3 separate regions of the Homo sapiens genome follow, and regions 1 and 2 are each linked to region 3. Evidence: promoter capture Hi-C in 16 types of primary human blood cells and fetal thymus (Javierre and others, 2016). All regions are on one chromosome and are shown on one strand. The core of a region is centred on a gene start or on the middle of the fragment in contact, and the rest is flanking DNA. Distances in the headings are between cores, read along the strand shown.

Region 1 (3,369 bases), core at 306-2,805, 430 kb after region 3:
CCTGGGCAAACTCGTTGTCTCCCCCTAGTGGAGACTGATATTAACTCAGAAGTTTGGGCAACTTGAAGGAAGATTGGCTGAGCCACACCTGACATATTGGTCTGGGTTCATCTTAAAGATCCCACCTCCTTTCCTAACCAGAAACAATATTCCCTGAAACCAGAAGTTAGGAAAGGACTAGAAGCCATCATTGATGACTTGAAGATGTAGAGCCTCCTCAAACCCTGCAACAGCTCTTGTAATACCCCAATATTGGGGGTACAAAAACCCAACAAGGATGAAGACTAGTTCAGGACCTCCACCTTGTTAATGAGGCTGTGGTTCCAATACATCCAGTGGTTACCAATCCATATACCCCACTAATTCAAATACCTGAGGGGACTAAATGGTTCACAGTTCTGGAACTAAAGGATACCTTCTTCTGCACACCTTTACACACTGACTCCTAGTGTTTGTTTGCATTTAAGGATCCCTCTAACCAAACCACCCAGAACACTGTTACCTCAGGGGTTCCGAGACAGCCCCACCTTGTTTGGCCAGGCATTATTGAGAGACCTCTCTGAATTCCTTTATCCTCAGGTTAAAGTTTTACAATACATGGATGACCTTCTCTGCGCTCCAACTGAGGAAATCTCTTAGGAGGGCAGTAAGGCCCTTCTTAACTTTCTGACTAACAGAGGATATAAGGTTTCAAAATCTAATGCTCAGGTATCTCAGACTTCAGTGAAATACCTAGGTCTGGCTTTGTCAGAGAGGGCCAGGGCATTGGACAAAGAGAGGATTAAGCCCATCTCCTCCTTTCCCTTCCCTAAAACCCTCAAGAAACTGAGGGAATTCTTACACATTACAGGATTCTGCAGACCATGGATACCTGGGTACAGTGAAATAGCTTGTCCCTATTTCACCTAATAAAGGAGACTCAGACAGCTAAATCTCACTGTCTAATTTGGGAACCAGAGGCTAAAAAGGCCTTTGACCAACTAAAACAAGCCTTGCTTAAGGCACCAGCCCTAAGTCTCCCCATAGGGAAAACATTTAAGCTTTATGTATCAGAGAAAAGTAATGGCACTGGGAGTTCTAACACAGACCTGGAGTTCAGCCCAGCAGCATGTAGGCTACCTGAGTAAGGAGCTTGATTTGGTAGCCACATGATGGCTAGCCTGACTCTGGGCATTCACAGCAATAGCCTTGCTGGTACCAGAGGCTAATAAGTTAACCACGGGGAATAACTTAACCGTTTATATCCCACATAATGTGGCAGGACTACTGTCTTCTAAGGGGAGTCTCTGGCTAACAGAAAACCACCTCCTCAGATACCAAGCTCTGTTATTAGAAAGTTCTGCAGTCCTTCTAATTAAGAACCTGTCCCTAAATCCAGCCACCTTCCTCCAAGAGGAATCCAGGGAACTTGAACATGACTGCTAGCAAATAGTAGTACAAACCTATGCAGCCAGAGAGAACCTCAAGGAAACCCCCTTAGATAACCCAGACTGGATTCCGTTTATGGACGGAAGTTTTTTTTGTAGAAAAAGGAACTCACAGAGCAGGGTATGCAATAGTTACTCTGAATGATGTTGTTGAGAGTGCACCTCTCTCCTTGGGCACAAATGGTCAGCTAGTTGAACTAATCACCCTCACGAGGGTGCTCGAATTAAGCAAAGGAAAAACGTTAACTTTTATATTGATTCTAAGTATGCTTTCCTGGTCCTCGATGCCCATACCACTATCTGGAAAGAGGAACTTCCTCATAGCTAATGGGTCTCCTATTAAATATAATCAGAAAATTAATAGACTATTATCCTCAGTTTTCCTCCCACAGGAAGTGGCAATAATACATTGTAAAGACTGCCAAAGAGGGACAGATGAAATAGTTGAGGGAAATAGGCTGGCAGACCAAGCAGTTTAATCAGCAGCAAGTGGGCCCCAGGTCTCTGACCCATTTGAAGTCCCACTGATCTGGGAGTGCCCCGTGATAGAAATAAAACCTCAATATTCTCTTGTGGAAATAGAATGGGCCACCTCTTAGGGATACATCCTGCAGTCCTCAGGATGGCTATAATCAGAGGATAGTAAGCTTCATCCACCAGCTGCCAACCCATGGAAAGTTCTTAAAAGCCTTCACCAGGCCTTCCACCTAGGTAAGGATAAAACCTATCAACTGGCCCAGAGATTATTCTCAGGTAAAAACCTGATACAAATGGTTCAACAGGTCATTAATACTTGCAAGACCTGCCTTGAAAACAATCCCCTTAATTGACAGCTTATTCTCCCAGGAACCCAAAGGATAGGAGGCTACCCAGGGGAAAACTGGCAAATGGATTCACCCATATGCCAAAGGAAAGGTACATGCAGTACCTCCTATTATGAATAGATACTTTCACTAACTGGGTAGAAACATTTCCATGTCAGACAAAGAAAGCCTCTGAGGTAATAAAATTACTGATCAGTGAGATAATTCCTTGTTTTGGACTTCCTAAATACCTCCAGAGCAATGATAGCCCCTCATTCAAGGCAGCTGTCACTCAGGGGGGTCTCAAAAGCACTAGGTATACAGTACCATCTTCATTGTGCCTGGAGACCACAATCCTCAGGAAAGATAGAAAAGACAAATGATATTATCAAAAGGTACCTCGGGAAACTGTCTCAGGAGACTCATCTCCCCTGGCCTACCCTTTTCCCCATAGCCCCTGTTAAGTATTAGAAATACTCCTTCAAAGCTAAGTTTCAGTCCCTTTGAAATGATGTATGGTTGGTCTTTTCTCACCAATGATTTCTTGTTAGACCAAGTAACCTCTGATTTAATTAGGCACATAATATATTTGGTCCATTTCCAATAGGAACTGAAACAACTGTCGGAGGCCCAGTTCTGTGTACCAGGGCCACCTCTATGCAACCCAGGGGACCTAGTGCTAGTAAAGGTACTTCCGTCCCTTTCTCCTTCTATAGGCCCAGGTTAGGAGGGACTCTACATTGTACTTCTTTCTACTCCTACGGCAGTGAAGGTCACTGGAATAGACTCTTGGATTCATTGCACCCGAGTAAAGGCCTGGGAAGCCAGTGGAGTCACCTCTGTTGACCCAGGAGGGCACTCAAAGTACCAATGTGAAGAGATCGGGGGCCTCAAGCTAAAAATCACAAAAGATAAATGGCAATAACTAACCTTCCATGGATATCCTCCTTACAGTCTTGTCTATGCCTGCTGTTCTTACCCTTGTTCTGTTCCATACTATGGGGCACAATAGTGTTTTCAGAATAAATAGTATATCTTACTTCTTATTTCTGTAATCTTTGGCACTAGATTCTTTCCTTGTATAATACACATGTTTAATCCATGCACACTTAACCTTATAAAACTTGTTTTTTTCTCTC
Region 2 (3,722 bases), core at 1,145-3,644, 480 kb before region 3:
GTTAATATTGTCACCTTTATGACAAAGGTTCTAATATGAAGAGTACTTGGAATTCTTAAAAAGCTTCCATTAGTCCATTCAATACCCTACTCTGACTTCCATTAATGTATCTTCCCTACTGTGTGATTAGGAAGCTCCACCGGAAGCCATAATCTGGATGCATTGGGGAAGATTTAGGGAGGAAACTTTTCCATAAGCTTGAAAGACAAAAATGGCATTTATCTGGGTTTCAAATGTTTCTTCTCCTTGAGGTTTCGTTTTCTGAATTAAAGTTTGAAGTGAACATACTATATATTCACAGTATTGTGCTTTTCAAATGTCCCCCTCACACAAACATACATACAAACACAGCAAAGATAGCAGGAGGCAGGTTATGGTCAGAGAAAATTCAGCTCCCTTTGTTATGCTATTTAAGTAATCGTTAAGTACATTACTAATATCCATGGCCATTTTTAAAACCAAGTAGCAATAACTAGTTTATCTCACTAAAGCACCAAGATCCTTAGGAACCAGAAAGAAGCTTTTCAGCATCACATCCAATATGCCCCTAATACTTAGTAAAGGCTGATATGATGATGCAGATCTTTTGATCACTTTTGGGATTAAGATCCAAGTTATGTTACTAAATCCCAATTCAATAAGGCAGTGCGGAAGATGCTGACCTAGCAGGGTCTTTATAACTGAAAGCCAGTGTTTGGTTTTATTGACAGAACTTTGTGCTAAAGACATGGAGTTTCCCAGCTACTTCAGGGTTATCCCAGTTACCTGTTCTCTCTCCACCTCCCACAGACTATATTGTGATAATCTCTAGAATTATCCCCAAAAGGAAGAAATAAAACATCTGCTTGGTGTATTCCTTATCAATCTTTATTCTATACTTCTCTTTCTGGATTCTCCATGATTCAGAGCACCTCCAGCCATATTCCAGCTGTGTGGTGCAAAGGACCCAGGCATTGTTTTAAAAATTCTTGAATCATAATGAACTAATAAGGTCCTCAATATAGCATATTTCTCTCATTGTTTAGGTGAGTTAAATTATTTGTAAGTTACAAAAGCCATGCATCTTTCTTGTTTTACTCCAAACATCATATTGGCACTTCATAATAGAAAAATTGAAAGTTGGCTATGTGGTAATATACTTTTTATCATAGACTTGTGTAATACTGTATTAATATATAACAAGTCCATGTAACATCTTTATTTTGTCTAAGAAATAAGTCTAGAGAAATGAGTGATTTATTTTTATAGAAACTGCATCCAAGAACTGCAGAGTTTTCAGCCCCAGAAACAAGAAAACAAGAACCTTATCAAGATATGGGTGCTGTAATGGGCTAGATTTTTCTTTAAAAAGAAAGAAAAAAGGAATAGGGAAGGTGTACGCAGTCTTGCAAATGAGGCAAGAACTGTTCTACAGAGTCAGGAGAGAGTCGAAATAAGGATGCCTGATGCTGAGTTGCAGAATCATTAGACTGTTACTCCTTATCTTCTTTCTGCCTGTGAATAATTTCAATGACCAGTACGTAGTAATGACATTGCGTATGTATACATGATAATATATTATGCAGTAATTTAAAATATGTTGGAAGTGTTGTGCCATTGGAAAAATTGCTGAAGGGGTAATGTTATAAAAAAGGCTTAGTGCAAGAAAATAAGATAGGTGATATAATATCAACTATATGAAACGTTTAGATAAGTAACAAAACTAGAAGAAAATATGTCAAAATGTTAAGAGAGGTTAGGATTTTAGGTAGTAACTTAAGGCCCTATATGTCTGGCCACCTGTAATTCTCTGAGATCATCTTTTACTATTGCTTCACTCCCCATCCCCCACAACAGTATCCTGCTCCAGCCACAGTACTGTTCTTCTTCTTATTGTTATTAAGTTCTGCGGTACATGTGCAAAACGTGCAGTTTTGTTCCATAGGTATACACGTGCCATGGTGGTTTGCTGCACCCATCAACCTGTCATCTACACTAGGTATTTCTCCTAATGTTATCCCTCCCCCAGCTCCCCACCATCTGACAGGCCCCGGTGTGTGATGTTCCCCTCCCTATGTCCATGTGTTCTCATTGTTCAACTCCCACTTATAAGTGAGAAGATGTGGTGCTTGGTTTTCTGTTCTTGTAATAGTTTGCTGAGAATGATGGTTTCCAGCTTCATCCACGTCCCTGCAAAAGACATGAACTCATTCTTTTTTATGGCTGCATAGTATTCCATGGTGTATATGTGCCATGTTTTCTTTATCCAATCTATTATTAATGAGCATTTGGGTTGGTTCCAAGTCTTTGCTATTATCAATAGTGCCACAATAAATGCTATATAAAATTACATCCACACTTTATTTTTCTCCATAGCTGTTACCATTACCTGACATAACTTACCAACGTAGGGATTGCTTTTTGCTAGTATTTCCCAAGAAAACAGAATGATTGCTTAGAAAGGGAGAGAAGAGGAAGCTGAGGGTGTATGTTAGAAAGTGATGGAATTTAGGCTAATAAGAAAGGAAAGAAGAATATTTGGGAGAGGCAGAGATGTCAGGCAGAACAATCACTGGATTATACATCACAAAAATTTTGAGGATCAGGGAACCAGGATAAATAAGCCTGGAAAAATAAGAAGTACTAGTCAAGAATGTTGTTGTTTGTTTTGTTTTGTTTTGTTTGCTTTGGAAGTGAGAATTGTGGAGGGATTGCAACTACTGTCTGGTGTCATTTCCTTACCTTTATAGACACCCTGCCTAATGGGTTTTGGACTGAATTATTCAGGAGGGGAAAAGAAAAAAAGGGGTAGAGGATATTCCACTCTTACTATTTTGATGTATATAATTAGCAGGCTCTGTCTAGATAAGTATGCACCTATAGTAACTTCCTTTTGAAAAAATAAAAATCAGATCTAATGGAACATTTGCAAACTGCTTTTCTTGCACTCAGTAATGTGTCATGGACATTATTTCATGTTAAAAAATATAGATATATATTTTTAAAACTATATAATATTTCACTACTTGTAGAGACCATAATATAGTTAACCAGTAACTGATTGTTGAGCATTCATATTGTTTTTCTCACACTTTAATAGACAAAGTAAAATCTGTATATACTTGATTTCTATTTTGCATACTTGTTGCTATGGGTTTGAATATATTACCTCCAAAATCAGGTGTTGCCAATGTGAAAGTATTAAGAGGTAGAGTCTGTAAGAGGTGATTAGGTCATGAGGGTTCGTCCCTCATGAATGGGATTAAGACCCTTTTAAAGGATCTTTGCAGAGTGCTTGGTAGCTTACCCTTCCACCTTCCACCAGATGAGGACACAATGTTTCTTCCATCTGGAGAATGCAACTCTCACCAGTCGAACCTGCCACCATCTTGATCTTACACTTCCCAGCATCCAGAACTGTGAGAAATGAATTTTTGTTTTTTATAAACTACCCAGTTTGTGACAGTCTGTTATAATAGCACAAAACAGACTAAGACACATGTTTACATCCTTTGGGTAAACTTTTAGGAGTGGAATTATATAGCAAAAGACCATTAGATTTTAAATGTTGATATTAATTTACTGAACAAGCATTTATTAAGAATTTGCAATGTTTCTCAGGCACTATTGTAGTCTTTTTGAATATGGCAATAATCAAAACAGAAAAGAATGGCAGCTTTTATGAAGCTAATGTACTGGTACAAATATAGTTGAGATGATTCAATCAACTTATATTTCCACCA
Region 3 (3,526 bases), core at 678-3,177:
ATTATTGAAGTAGTCCACATGAAAACAAATACAGAGACATATTTTATCCCTAAAGGTCACGGCCACCACTTTAATCTACCACATGATCTATTTTGATACCGGTTCTGCAGGCTGGCAGTGGCCCACTGGAAGTCTCTGTTGACAGCACATGAACATTTTATCAACTGTCTAGAGAGCATGGACGTGTTTTTTAGCACCTACCACGAAGTCCCTAACATATCCTGTCTCACTAAGCCTCACAGCCACTTGTTAGAGTCACATTAGCATTCCCATTTTACAAATGAGGAAACCAAGGCCCAGAATAACTAGGCAGCCTGCTCAAGGGGATGTAGCTAGCGTGTGGGAGCCACATTGAAGTGATGTCTGTCGAAACCCAAAGTCAAGGTCTTTCTTTTTCACTGTTCCCTGGTCAAAAGTATCTTTAGTCAAAAGCAATGGAGCAAGCATTTGCTTTGGGAGTTCTCAGTGCTGGTGAGCTTGCCCAGTGTCAAGAACATGAAGGCATTTGTAAAACCCTCCTCTTCCTTACCTGCAAGGCTGGAGCCGGAAAATCCATTTGGGGAAATAAAAAAAAGTCCCGAGTTCTACCACACACCCATCAGATAGAGAAGAATGGAATTACTGCTGCTGTATATATAACAGGGGCGTGTCTCCAACCACACTATTTTGATAGTACATAAGCGTGACTCTGAGAAGTTTTATCTACAGTCAGCTATACGTTTGTCAATGTGAAGAGGTGGTTTTCAAAAAGGAAATTCTAATAAGTTAACTGATTAGATAAATTCACTTACTCTTTTAGGTTACCTATGATTCTAGGTAAAGGTGTTATTCTCCCATAATTAACCAAGTTGTGTTCAAGACTAAACATCCCTCCAGAGATGGTTGTGAATGGTCTATAGGTGGCTTTCATTAATTCAACTCTCAAAAGGCATTATTTGGCAATTACAGCATCCAGGCTCTGAAGACAGTGTCCAATTAATAAACATTACAGCATTGATATTTTCTTGCTGTCAGGTAGTTCTCAAGTTGCCTTAGAAATAGGGGTCACCTCTGAGGACAGAGAGAAGAGAAGGGCAAAGAGTTAGGGCAGTGCTTTAGGTCTTTAGTGTTTATTTCTTTACCCAGAGAAGTACAGGAAAAATATAACAAAAATGTTATCATTGTAAAATCTAAATGGTGAACATTTCAATGTTCGCCATAGTACTTACAGCATTTTTAGTACATTTATATTTTGTAATTTAAATTTTTGGGGTTTTTTTTGCCTCCCAAGTAGCTGGGATTAAGGCACCTGCCGCCACGCCCGGCTAATTTTTGTATTTTTTAGTAGAGACAGGGTTTCACCACGTTGGCCAGGCTGGTCTTGAACTCCTGACCTCAGATGATCCACCCGCCGCGGCCTCCCAAACTGCTGGGATTACAGGCGTGAGCCACCGTGCCCAGTCAATTTAAATGTTTTTAATTTCACAACTTACATTCTAGCTTCAAAAATATATTTTACATTATTACGAACCACTCACCAAGATTTTATGGCCAGATACCCAAATTCATCTCAGTCTCCAAGTGCAAATTTTAAAACTAATTTCTTCCATCATTCAATTCAAGCAGAATGGTAGAGTAGTATTTTAGAACAGATAGAACTAGTAAATCCCAGCTCTGTGAACATACTTTCTCTGTTACCTTGGCCAAGTTATTTGCTAAAGGCATTTGCTTCCCATCCTGTATCTGTAAAATGGGTATTTCCTATTGCAAAAGGTAGATAAGTAGCATGTGCTTGGTGGGTTAGTGTTTTTCCCTCTCCAGCTGGAAAAAAAAAACCTGGTGTGGGGGAAGAAGGGGAACAGTTTGTGCAACAGAACCCTAAGAGGAAATCAGCTGCTCATCAAGATAAGGGCTGAGGCATAAAACTGCCAGAGGGTCTCAAGGCAGGCAAAGAAGAACCATGAGGCTCATCCTGCCTGTGGGTTTGATTGCTACCACTCTTGCAATTGCTCCTGTCCGCTTTGACAGGTAAATCTTACTTCCTGTGTTCCAGTCTCTGTGTAGAAGAGAATTAAAGGTTGTTTCCTTACAGTTCACTTTTTTTTTTTCATTTGCCTCCACAAAGGGAGAAGGTGTTCCGCGTGAAGCCCCAGGATGAAAAACAAGCAGACATCATAAAGGACTTGGCCAAAACCAATGAGGTAAGCATTTAGAGGGATATTTTATCTTTTCTTACTGTTCTCTAAAAGATGCTTCTTCTTATTTTACTGTCAATGCCCATGGGACTACAAAAGACTATTGAACATAAGGGGAAAGCAGGAGCTATCTGGATAATTCAGCCAATGGCCAATACTTCACCTGTTCTGGTTTTGGTCTTGGTTTCCAAGACTACCACTTCTGTTTTTCCTCCCAAAAGCTTTTCAAACACCAGCTTTTTCAAGGTAAAACTATGAAATCAGGAGCTGTTCTTGGCCTCCTTATCAGGGCATCTTTCTCTTGCCTACGGGTGCCATTCCCTCTCCATTCTCCCCACTCCGACCCTCATCTCCTCTGGTGCCATAATTTCTCTTGAGTACTAACTGAAAACGTTGAGGCACTGGCTAATATCAAGATGTGACCCTTTCCAAGAGCAGGTACATTTTCAAATAAGACTTTTAAAGTTAGATCAATCCTTTAAAATCCAACAGCCTAATATAATTTTATCATGTATTCAGCTGCTCCTATTTATGTTGCACCAGCCACCTTATATATGCCATTTCAAATTCTCCAGCAGATTCTCAATGTCAGGGTTATAATGTAACTCATTTGAAACAGAAGAGCTAAAGTGCAAAGACAATAAATTAAATGACCAAGATTACACATCAAATTTAAACCCAGAACTGGGTCTGGGATTTATTCCAGTCAAACATACAGTTACCTCTACATCAAATCAATCAAAGGCCCTGCCTATTCTAACTCCCAAATGTTTCTCAAATCCACACATTGCCCTCCATTCCACTGCCACTGCCAAGTTCATGTTCACTCTACCTCTTGCAAGGAGAATTTCCATAGTCCCTTAACTAGCAATCAGGGCTCTAGTCTTGACTCCCACAAAGCCAACTCTGCATTGCAACCTGATTGCTCACTCTAAAACTTGACAATTGCATTCCTCCGTTTGAGGGTCATTACTAAGAAGCAGCCTAGTACGGAAAAAGCATTTTCTTCAAAGTCAAACGCTTACATTCAAATCCAAGCTCTACGCTAGCTCTGTAGCCTTAGGCAACTTACTCAACATCTCTGGGTCTCAATTTCTTCTGCTATAAAATGGGGATAATAGTCATAGCTACTTCCTAGGGTTGCTACAAAGACTAAGTAAGCGTTTGATAGCACTTAGAAGCAGGCCTGCCATATTAAGCACCATAGAAGCGTTTTTTGTTTGTTATTGTTTTTGTTTTGAGACAGAGTCTCACTCTGTCACCCAGGCTGGAGTGCAGTGGCACAATCTCTGCAGCCTCCGACTCCCAGGTTCAAGCGATTCACCTGCCTCAGCCTCCCTATTAGCTGGGAT

What was found. The method cuts DNA at HindIII sites, captures the fragments that hold promoters and counts their contacts. A CHiCAGO score of 5 or more calls a contact.
Region 1: a contact is called between a fragment that was not itself captured here and the fragment with the promoter of CPA3 in region 3, in 1 of 17 cell types (total CD4 T cells). The highest score is 5.5, in total CD4 T cells.
Region 2: a fragment that was not itself captured here is called in contact with the fragment with the promoter of CPA3 in region 3 in 1 of 17 cell types (endothelial precursors); the score reaches 5.4 in endothelial precursors.

What each region holds. Positions count from the first base shown.
Region 1 is chr3:149,291,355-149,294,723 of GRCh38, forward strand. All of the region lies in intron 1 of TM4SF18-AS1 (TM4SF18 antisense RNA 1), which reads left to right. Among named protein-coding and RNA genes, the nearest start is that of TM4SF18-AS1, 8.3 kb to the left of the region's middle. The HindIII fragment of the contact is 1,034 bases long and covers 1,039-2,072 here.
Region 2 is chr3:148,381,474-148,385,195 of GRCh38, forward strand. The region is part of intron 4 of LINC02046 (long intergenic non-protein coding RNA 2046); the gene reads left to right. It overlaps LOC105374147 (a long non-coding RNA gene), which reads right to left. Exons shown (of 4, transcript XR_924566.2): 4 at 2,369-3,396. Among named protein-coding and RNA genes, the nearest start is that of LINC02046, 100 kb to the left of the region's middle. The HindIII fragment of the contact is 3,753 bases long and covers 519-3,722 here.
Region 3 is chr3:148,863,369-148,866,894 of GRCh38, forward strand. CPA3 (carboxypeptidase A3) reads left to right here and starts at 1,928. Exons shown (of 11, transcript NM_001870.4): 1 at 1,928-2,007; 2 at 2,105-2,180. The coding sequence starts at 1,940. The HindIII fragment of the contact is 2,592 bases long and covers 1-2,393 here.